3 separate regions of the Homo sapiens genome follow, and regions 1 and 3 are each linked to region 2. The links are contacts of gene promoters, found by promoter capture Hi-C in blood cells and fetal thymus (Javierre and others, 2016). All regions are on one chromosome and are shown on one strand. The core of a region is centred on a gene start or on the middle of the fragment in contact, and the rest is flanking DNA. Distances in the headings are between cores, read along the strand shown.

Region 1 (3,060 bases), core at 161-2,660, 1.0 Mb before region 2:
GTTACATCACCAAAATGGTGGAGTACAAGGAATCAAGCTTCACTTCTCCCTAAGAGAAAACTAAAAACAAATACCTTCTGCCAAGATTACGATGAGCAATATCCCAGAACTGAAATCTGAGGATGAAGCAATCCCTGTGTCCAAAGAGAAGTGAAAACACTGAGCAGACAGTATAGAGAATCAGACTTCTATGTTCATGACACTCCTCCCACAATCTGCCAGACATAGTGTGCTAGGAAAATTGAGTACAGAGACAAACCGCGAACTCTAGTACTGTAAGTTGGTGGTGCAATAGACTCATACCTCTAGAATGAAACTCCAAACATAAATCTATCCAAAAAATAGCTAGAGCAATCTGTAAAGATATGGGTAATATAAAAATATGTCAATACAATAATTAAAAGTCAAAATGTGAGAGGAATGGAGTTAAAGTGTAGAGATTGTTTTTTCTATTTCTTCATTATTTGTTTCTATTCTAAGATAAGCTGACATCTCCTTAAAATAACATCTATAAGATGTTTTTGTAAACTCATGATACCCACAACCCCAAAACCTATAATAGATTCACTAAAAATATCAAGTACCAGCAATCCCACTGCTGGGTATATACCCAAAAGAAAGGAAATCAGTATATCAAAAAGACATCGGTACCCCTATGTTTGCTGTAGCACTGATTACAATAGTTAAGATTTGGAAGCAACCTAACTGTCCACCAATAGATGAATGGATAAAGAAAATGTGGTACATATTCACAATGGAGTACTATTCAGCCATAAAAAAAAGAATGAGATCCATCATTTGCAACAACATGGATGGAACTGGACATTATGTTATTAAGAGAAATAAGTCAGGAACAGAAACACAAACATTTCATGTTTTTACTTATTTGTGTGATCTAAAAATCAAAACAATTGAATTCATGGACATAGAGAGTAGAAGAATGGTTGCCAGAAGTTAGGAACAGTAGACGGGGGATGGTAGGGGAAGTGTGGACAGTTAATGAGCACAAAAAAAAAAAATAGAAAGAATGAATAAGACCTACTATTTGACAGCACAATAGGATGACTATAGTCAATAATAAACTTAATTGTATTTTTTAAATAAAGAATGTAATTGTATTATAGGTAACTCAAAGGATAAATGCTTGAGATGGATACCCCATTCTCCATGGTATGCTTATTTCAGATTACATGCCTGTATCAGAACATCTCAGTTAACCCATAAATATATATACCTATGTACCCACAAAAATGTTTTAAAAATCAAGCAATGGATTAAAACATACTACCAGAGAGAATCACTTAACCCCAAAGAAAGACAGTAAGAAAGAATGAAAGGAAGAGAGGAGTTACAAAGCAACCAGAAAACAAGCAACAAAATGGCAGTAGTTAAGTCCTTACTTATCAATAATAACACTGACTAAATGAACTCAATTCTCCAATTAAAAGGCAGAGAGTGGCTGAATTAATAAAGAAACATGATCCAAATATATACAGCCTACAAGAAACTCACTTCAACTATCAAGACACATAGACAAAGTGAAGGGGTGGAAAAAGGTATTACATACAACTTGAAACAAACAAACAAACAAAAAACTAAAAAAAAAAACCAAGTAGTTATACTTACATCAGGAAAAATACAGTAAAAATCAAAGACTAAAAAGAGATGAAGAGGATCATTATATAATGATAAAGGCGTGAATTCAGCAAGAGGATTCAGCAAAACAATTATAAATGTCTATGCACCTACCACTGGTGCTCTCAAGTATACAAAGCAAATATTAAAGATCTAAAGAGAGAGAGAGAGAGACCGTAATATAATAATAGTAAGGAACTTTAACACCTCACTCTTGGTAACACACAGATCATCCAGAAAGAAAAATCAACAAAAATTAACGAAAACCTGTTAAGCAAATTCAGTAAAGTTGTGGATACAAAATCAACATACAAAAATCAGTAGCATTTATATATGCCAACGGTGAACAATCTGAAAAAGAACTCAAGAAAGCAATCCCATTTACAATATCTACAAAAAATATAAAATAACTAAGAATCAATTTAACCAAATAAGTGAAAGATCTATACAAGAAAAACCAGTTGAGGAAGAGAACACTGATGAAAAGAACATACAAAAAATGAAAAGACATCCCATACTCATAGTTTGCAAAAATTAATACCATTAAAATGATAACACTACCCAAAGCAACCTACAAATTCAATATAATCCCTATCAATCTACCAATGAGATTTTTCATAGAAATAGAAAAAGTAAACCTAACATTTATATGGAACCAAAATAGAGCCTGAAGCAATCCTGAGCAAAAACAACTAAATTGGCAGCGTCACATTACCTGAGTTCAAAATATACTATACAAAGCCAAAGTAACCAAAGCCACATAAAACTAGACCCATAGACTAATTAAACAGAATAGAGAACACAGAAATAATACCACCTATTTACACTCAGCTCATTTGTGACAAAGGTACTGAGAACATACACTGGGAAGAGGACAGCCTCTTCAATAAATCGTGCTGGGAAAACTAGATAACCATATGCAAAAGAATAAAATTAGTGTCCTATCACTCACCATGTACAAGAATCAAATCAAAATGGACTAAAGACTTAAATCTAGGATGTGAAACCATGAAACTACTATAAGAAAACATTAGGGAAATGCTTGAGGACATTGGTCTGGGCAAACATTTTATCGCATAAGACAGCAAAAGCACAGGCAACAAAAGCAAAAATAAACAAATAAGATCACATGAAGCCAAAAAGCTTCTGCATGGCAATCAACAAAGTGAAGAGACAACCTACAGAATGAGAGAAAATATTTTCAAACTATCCATCTGAGATGGGATTAATAACCAGAATCTATAGGGATCTCAAACAACAGCAAAAAACAAACAAACAAAAACAAACAAATCTAATTTAAAAATGAGCAAAAGATCTGAGTAGACATTTCTTAAAAGACATACAAATGGAGCCAGGTGCGGTGGGTCACACCTGTAATCCCAACACTTTGGGAGGGTGAAAGGGTGGATCACCTGAGGTCAGGAG
Region 2 (3,249 bases), core at 219-2,718:
ACTAGCATGTGCCACCATGCCCGGCTGATTTTTCTGTTTTTAGTAGAAACAGGGTTTGGCCATGATGGCCAGGCTGGTCTCGAACTCCTAACCTCAAGTGGTCCTCCTGCCTCGGCCTCCCAAAGTGCTAGGATTACAGGTGTGAGCCACCAAGCCAGGCCGACTGCTTAACATTTAGAATGTATGTACAGAATACTTTTTCTACTCAGCATCGGTCTTCCTGCCCCGTCACCTTGTTTTGTTTTATTGGTAACATTAATCCTGATTGTTTTAGATCTCTGAAGTTTAATTAGTTCTGCTATACTCACCAGAGTTTGGCTTTCATCTCGCCTTTCTGCATTTCCAAAATAGGACCGTCTTCATTTTAAAAAATGCTTTCAATTACCCAAGCTTAAGTATTGTTAATCCAATGGGCCTACTTACTATCCACACCAGAAAAACGTTAGGGTTCACTGTATTCATTTAAAATCCAGTTTGGGAAGATGTAACCACCAGACACACACACGAGCGTTTAGTGATACCAAGATGAGGTTGAACAGGGCCCAGTACTCGAAGAAATCGTCGAAGGAGCATCATCGTGGTTAAGACCAGACTCGAAGTAGGTTTTACCCTGACTCCATCACTAGCTCTGCCATACTGGACTACTTAGGAAACTTCTTGTGCCTCCATTTTATAACTAAGTGAAATAAGGAAAGAATTTGAAATCGTGCCCGGCACAAAATTAAGCACTTAATAGATTGGCATTTTTCATTTATTTAAAGTTACAGAATGTCAGGTATATTTTTAAAGCGTTATCTAATGCAGTTCAGAAATTTTAAAGAAGCTCCAGACTTTCACAAAAGGTGAAGTGACTTGCCCAAAGCCACAAAACGAACTGGCGATAGTTATACTATACAGGTTTCTTGAATCCCAGGTCACTCTTTTTGTGAAAAATACGGTGCTGTGGCACCTTATTCTCATTGCCTGTGGCTTGAGTAACTGAAGACGTTTTCATGCCATATGAAAGGTATTTAGCATGCTGCATTGATTCCTTATCAGATTAAATCTTTGCTTTTAAAGAGAATTGATTTTTAGCCCATAGCAATTCTTGAAAGTAAACACTCCAAGATGAAGCTGCCCTTTCCCATCAAAGGTTAGACACCCTAAATCCAGAAAAATCTTCAACGTGTAGGAGACCTGTTCACAGGTAGCTCTAGGTTCCGGTGAAGTGGCTGCAGCACAGCCTTCAGCATCACTTGCTGCCTCTTCTGCTTGCAAGCTTGGTGGTGGATCTAGCGCGTCTCTGGTTGCTACGGCGATTCCCCGGCAGGCGTCATCCGTCGCTATGGCGTTCTGCACTGCGCAGCATGGCTGCTCCCGATTGGCTGAGGCGCCCCAGGTGGCGGAGGAAGAATTGTCGGCATTGGCCTGGCCAGCGCTGGTTGGTGGCCTGGAGGAGGATTTGATTGGAAAACCAACGGTGCAGCTGGCCGCGGTGTCCCTGAGGTTGAGGGGACCGGGAATAGGCTGGGGGGAGGACGGGACGGGCTGAGACTGGACGGGACCCCCGGTCTGCAGCAGCAGGTGACAGCAGCAGGGACAATGATAAGGAGATTGGCCTGAAGGAGGGACCGTCCCTCCCGCGCGGTGAGTAGGCGGGAGCCGGTGCTCGGCTGTGCCGGCGAGCAGCTTGAGTCAGGGTCTCCGGGGAGACGTCCTCAGGTCCCTGTGGAGCGGCCCCGAAGCCTCGGGAGCCAGCTTCACTAGACAAGAGGCAGAGGTAGAGAATGCGGCTGTGGTGGGTAAGTGAGTCACTGCGTGAGGCAGTCTTTTCAAAGCAGGTGGGTTTGTGTTGGACGGATGGATGGTGGGAAAGCGCCATCAACGATGCTTCTTGGCGCTTCCATTTTGATAACGGAATTATTCTGGTTAAATGGAGCCTGAATGTGTCTCTTCCAATCTGCTCCGACGCCTCTGGAGGTTCATTCTTCATCTCTATGAGCGTCGCTTTTCTGCCTTCTCCTTACAGGATGCTGCTTTGACTTTGCCCCTCTGCTTTTCTGCCCTACTTCGGTGAGCCCTTCCACTTCCTCGCCTCAGGCACCATCTATCTGACGATGATTAGAAAGTCTCCAACTGGAACCTAGCCTGCTCTACTAACTGTCAGACCCCAAAATCCAGCTGCCAAGTTAACGCCACACATGTGCAACCCTGAACGCCATCTTCCCCATGTCTGCTGCTGCTCTTGGATTCCCTATTTTGGGCATCACTATCCATTCAGCTTTCAAAAACTACACTCTAGACGACATCCATGACACTTACTGCTGCTTCCTCTGCATCTCTATCAATTATCAAGACTATCCCTTCTTAATAGGTGTTGAATCAATTCCCACATTACCATCTCTATTTTTACTGTCTCAATTTCCACCATCGGTTGGTTAAATTCAACACCCATCTGGCTTCTCCGATTCTAGTCTGGCCCTATCTATCCAATCCACTTTTTTCCCCACCATTGTTGAACTGATATATATATATGTGTATATATATATATATGGAGTCCTTCTAAAAAAGACTCCTTTTTTAGAAGGAGTCTTGCTGTGCTGCCAGGCTGGAGTGCAGTGGAGCGATCTCAGCTCACTGCAGCCTCCGCCTTCCGGGTTCAACCAATTCTCATGCCTCAGCCTCCAGAGAGCTGGGATTACAGGCGCGAGCCACTACGCCTGGCTAATTTTTGTATTTTTAGTAGAGAAGGGGTTTCACCATGTTGGTCAGGCTGGTCTCGAACTCCTGATCTCAGGTGATCCACCCGCCTCAGCCTCCCAAAGTGCTGGAATTACAGGCGTGAGCCACCGTGCCCGGCTAAACTGATCTTTTTAAAACGCACATAAGGGCATTTCCCTTCCCTACTTAAAGTCCTGCAATGATTCCCCATTACCCTAATCCAATCTTTAGTTAGGCCTTCTATCAGCAGTTCCATCTTGATTGTTCCCAGAATATGTCACATTCTCTCCTGTGTGTAATTATCTCACCTGTTGCTCACACTGCCTGGAATGGACTTTCCTTTTTGCACCCCCACACTCCTGCTCTCACTCCCCAATCATTTTCTGTATGTTGCTTGATTACTGTTTCTTTCTCTGGACTGCCTCTGTGACGGCAGAGACCATCTTTGTCTCAGTCACTATTGTTATATATATCCAGCATTTAGCCCAGTGCAAGACATCGTAACAGGTGTTCAACAAATACTTGTTAACTGACTGAATCTCTAAAATG
Region 3 (3,166 bases), core at 222-2,721, 1.7 Mb after region 2:
GCTTTACCAGCATAATCCTGAAGACAAAGCACAATCAAAGCAATGGCTACTAAGAGGTGGAAGTGGTCCAATCAAAGCGAAAGCAGACAGGTCAAGAGCAAAGGTCTTGGCAACAGTTTTTTAGGATGCTCAAGGCATTTTGCTTGTTGACTTTATGAAGGGCCAAAGAACGATAACATCTGCTTATTATAAGAGTGTTTTGAGAAAGTTAGGTAAAGTTTTAGCAGAAAAATCCCCAGGAAAGCTTCACCAGAGTCTTTCTCCATCATGACAGTACTCCTGCTCATTCCTTTCATCAAACAAGAGCAATTTTATGAGAGTTTTGATGATAAATAATTAGGCATCCATCTTATAATCCTGATTTTGCTCCTTCTGACTTTTTTTGTTTACTAATCTTAAATCTTTAAAAGGCACCTAATTTTTTCAGTTGATAATGTAAAAAGACTGCATTGGCATGGTTAAATTCCCAAGACCCTTGGTTCTTCAGAGTTGAGCTAAATGGCTGATATCATCACTTATAAAAGTGTCTTGACCTTTATGGAGCTTTTGTTGAGAAATAAAATTTATATTTTTTATTTTTATCTTTTGATTCCATTTTTCCAAGAACTTTTTGGAGTCTCCTTGGACTTTACCAGGGAGTTATGTATTTTTGTGTTACTGTGTTGCTATTTTTTATCCTTTTGCTTTAAGGGACTCCCTTTATCATTTCTTGTTGGGCAAACCTAGTGGTGATGAACTGTCCCAGTGTTTGTTTATCTAAGAAAGTATTAATTTCTACTTCATTTTTGAAGGGCACTTTTGCTGGATACAATGTTCTTGGTTGGCAGTGTTTTTTTTTTTTTTCTTTCAGTACTTCAGATATATTCTTCCAATCCCTTCTATCTTGCAAGGTTTCTGCTGAGAAATTGGCTAGTAATCTAACAGAAGCTCCTTTGTAATTGATGATTCACTTTTCTGTTGCTGCTTTTAAGATTCTCTCTTTGTCTATGACTTTTGACAGTATAATTATGATGTGTCTTGGTGTAGTTTTCTTTAGATTTATCCTTGGAGTTCTTTGAGCTTCTTTAATTTGTATATGCATTTATGTCCTCAGATTTGGAAAGTTTTCAGCTATTATTTCTTCAAATAGGCTCTTTCTCCATTTCTCCCTTTCTTCTCCTTTGAGGCTTACATAATGTATATGTTGTTCTGATAGATAGTGGCCCATAAGTTCTTTAAGCTCTTTTTATGTTTATTCATTCCTTTGCCTTTTTGCTCCTTTCCCTTGGCAATTTTGAAAGTCCTGTCTTCAAATTTGCTGATTTAAAAAAATTCTGCCTGCTCAAGTCTACTGTTACATCCCTCTAGTGTATTTTCAATTCATTTACTGTATGCTTCAGTTCCAGAAATAATGTTTGCTACTTCATCATAGTTTTTATCTTTGTTGATTTTTTCCTTTTGTTTATGCATTGTTACACCGAGTTTTTGTTTGTTCATCTGTACTCATTTATTTCATTAAGCATCCTTATGGCAGTTAATTTGAATTCTTTGTATGACAATATATTTCCATTTCTTTAGGCTCAATTTGTGGTGATTTATTTATTATTTTTTTGAGACAGGCTCTTGCTCTGTCACCCAGGCTGGAGTACAGTTGTGTGCAGATGGCTCACTGCAGCCTCGACCTTCTGGGCTCAGGCAATCCTCCCGTCTCAGCCTCCCAAGTAGCTGGGACTACAAGTGTGCACTACCACACCTGGCTAATTTTTTTTTGTTTTGTTTTGCTAGAGATAAGATTTGGCCATGTTGCACAGACTGGTTTTGAGCTCTGGGCTCAAGGGATCTGCCTGCCTCAGCCTCCCAAAGTGCTGGGATTACAGGTGTGAGCCACTGCGCCTGGCTGCAATTTAGTTTTTTACATTGAATCGGCTGTATTTCCCTGTTTCTTTGTATTGTTATTTTCTGTTAGGGCTTTGGCATTTGAAGGCTTAGCTAACTCTCTGGTCTTTGCGGTCTGGTTTCATACTGGGAAGACTTTCTTCATCCAGTTAGTCTAGCTAGAGAATCCTGAGACCTCACAAATCTTTTATGGGGATGCATCCTCTTTGGGTTTGTAATTTCTTAATTGAAGAGGTTTGCCTCTGTCCATCTGTCTGCTCCCTCTGGTGTGTCTTTGTCTGCTTTACTTGTGGCGTCTCGTGCTGTAGTAAACTACAGTACTGGAGCTCCACCTTGTGTCTGTTTCTGATACTGCAGGGTCTGATGCTAAACCAAAGCACTTTGCTTTTGTTTTCAATGGCCCTCAACCTGGCACCCTGTTCAATGTCAGTACTTAGATTCAGTCAAGAAGTTTCTAGGGTAGCACTGCCCTCAGCTGTTCCATTGGAGGTATATTCCTTTTCTGCTCCTCCCCAGGGAGAAGGTGGAAGTTGTTGTTGTCTTGTTTGTTTTTCTCAATCTTGCCTTGCTGGGGCAGATAGGAGGGAGGACATGAGCTTTGATGCTATTTTATGCTCACCTGGGGTGCTGGAACTTATCACAAAGGCAGTTGGATTGTTTGTTATTGTTGAATCCTTGTCTTCATGGGGAAAGAAAGGCCTGGGGTTTCTTGTTTTGCCATCTGGCTGACCACACTCAAATGTTACCTGTTTTTTTTAGACATTATCTTAGCAAGAATGGTAAGTCTTTGAACTTGATAGGAATTTGGTGGGTTCAAGCTTTCAAACTTTTTTTTGTAATATATCCATTTGGGAAGAGGTGCAGGGAGGAAGAGGTGGTGATTATAAGTAAGGAAGTGTGGAAAAAGTTGTAAATTCTTGAAGAAAGCATGAGGTAAGGTTTTACTCCTGTTTTTTTTTTTTTATCCCTGTGTGCCCTTTAGTTCAGTTTAGTTCATACAAATTAGATAGACATGAGCCTCTGGTTGAGTCTAATCTTGAAAATATTTTCTTTGTGATGGGGTTGGTTTTAGAAGAGTAGCCTGGAATACGAAAGCTTTTATTTGTATGGTTATCATGTGTCTTCAACCTTTATGTCAATAATTGCAGACTTAGAATAGCAGTTCTAAGTTAATGGTAAAATGTTACCTACTTTCGATTCCATAGCATCTATCTTCTTTGAGTACTTTCTTAGAGTGTGATTTTAATGATTATGATCTTTGTTCTAACTATTTTGAGGCTTCATTAAAAAA

Evidence for each region. The method cuts DNA at HindIII sites, captures the fragments that hold promoters and counts their contacts. A CHiCAGO score of 5 or more calls a contact.
Region 1: a contact is called between a fragment that was not itself captured here and the fragment with the promoter of NEK10 in region 2, in 4 of 17 cell types (M2 macrophages, M0 macrophages, monocytes and 1 more). The highest score is 10.3, in M2 macrophages.
Region 3: a contact is called between a fragment that was not itself captured here and the fragment with the promoter of NEK10 in region 2, in 5 of 17 cell types (total B cells, fetal thymus, total CD8 T cells and 2 more). The highest score is 10.3, in total B cells.

The regions. Positions count from the first base shown.
Region 1 is chr3:28,373,699-28,376,758 of GRCh38, reverse strand. The region is part of intron 1 of ZCWPW2 (zinc finger CW-type and PWWP domain containing 2); the gene reads right to left. Among named protein-coding and RNA genes, the nearest start is that of AZI2, 26 kb to the right of the region's middle. The HindIII fragment of the contact is 2,741 bases long and covers 40-2,780 here.
Region 2 is chr3:27,367,602-27,370,850 of GRCh38, reverse strand. It overlaps NEK10 (NIMA related kinase 10), which reads left to right and starts at 1,468. Exons shown (of 36, transcript NM_001394966.1): 1 at 1,468-1,626. RefSeq lists an enhancer at 1,710-2,210. The HindIII fragment of the contact is 2,054 bases long and covers 1,261-3,249 here.
Region 3 is chr3:25,647,287-25,650,452 of GRCh38, reverse strand. The region is part of intron 1 of TOP2B (DNA topoisomerase II beta); the gene reads left to right. Among named protein-coding and RNA genes, the nearest start is that of TOP2B, 16 kb to the left of the region's middle. The HindIII fragment of the contact is 2,449 bases long and covers 247-2,695 here.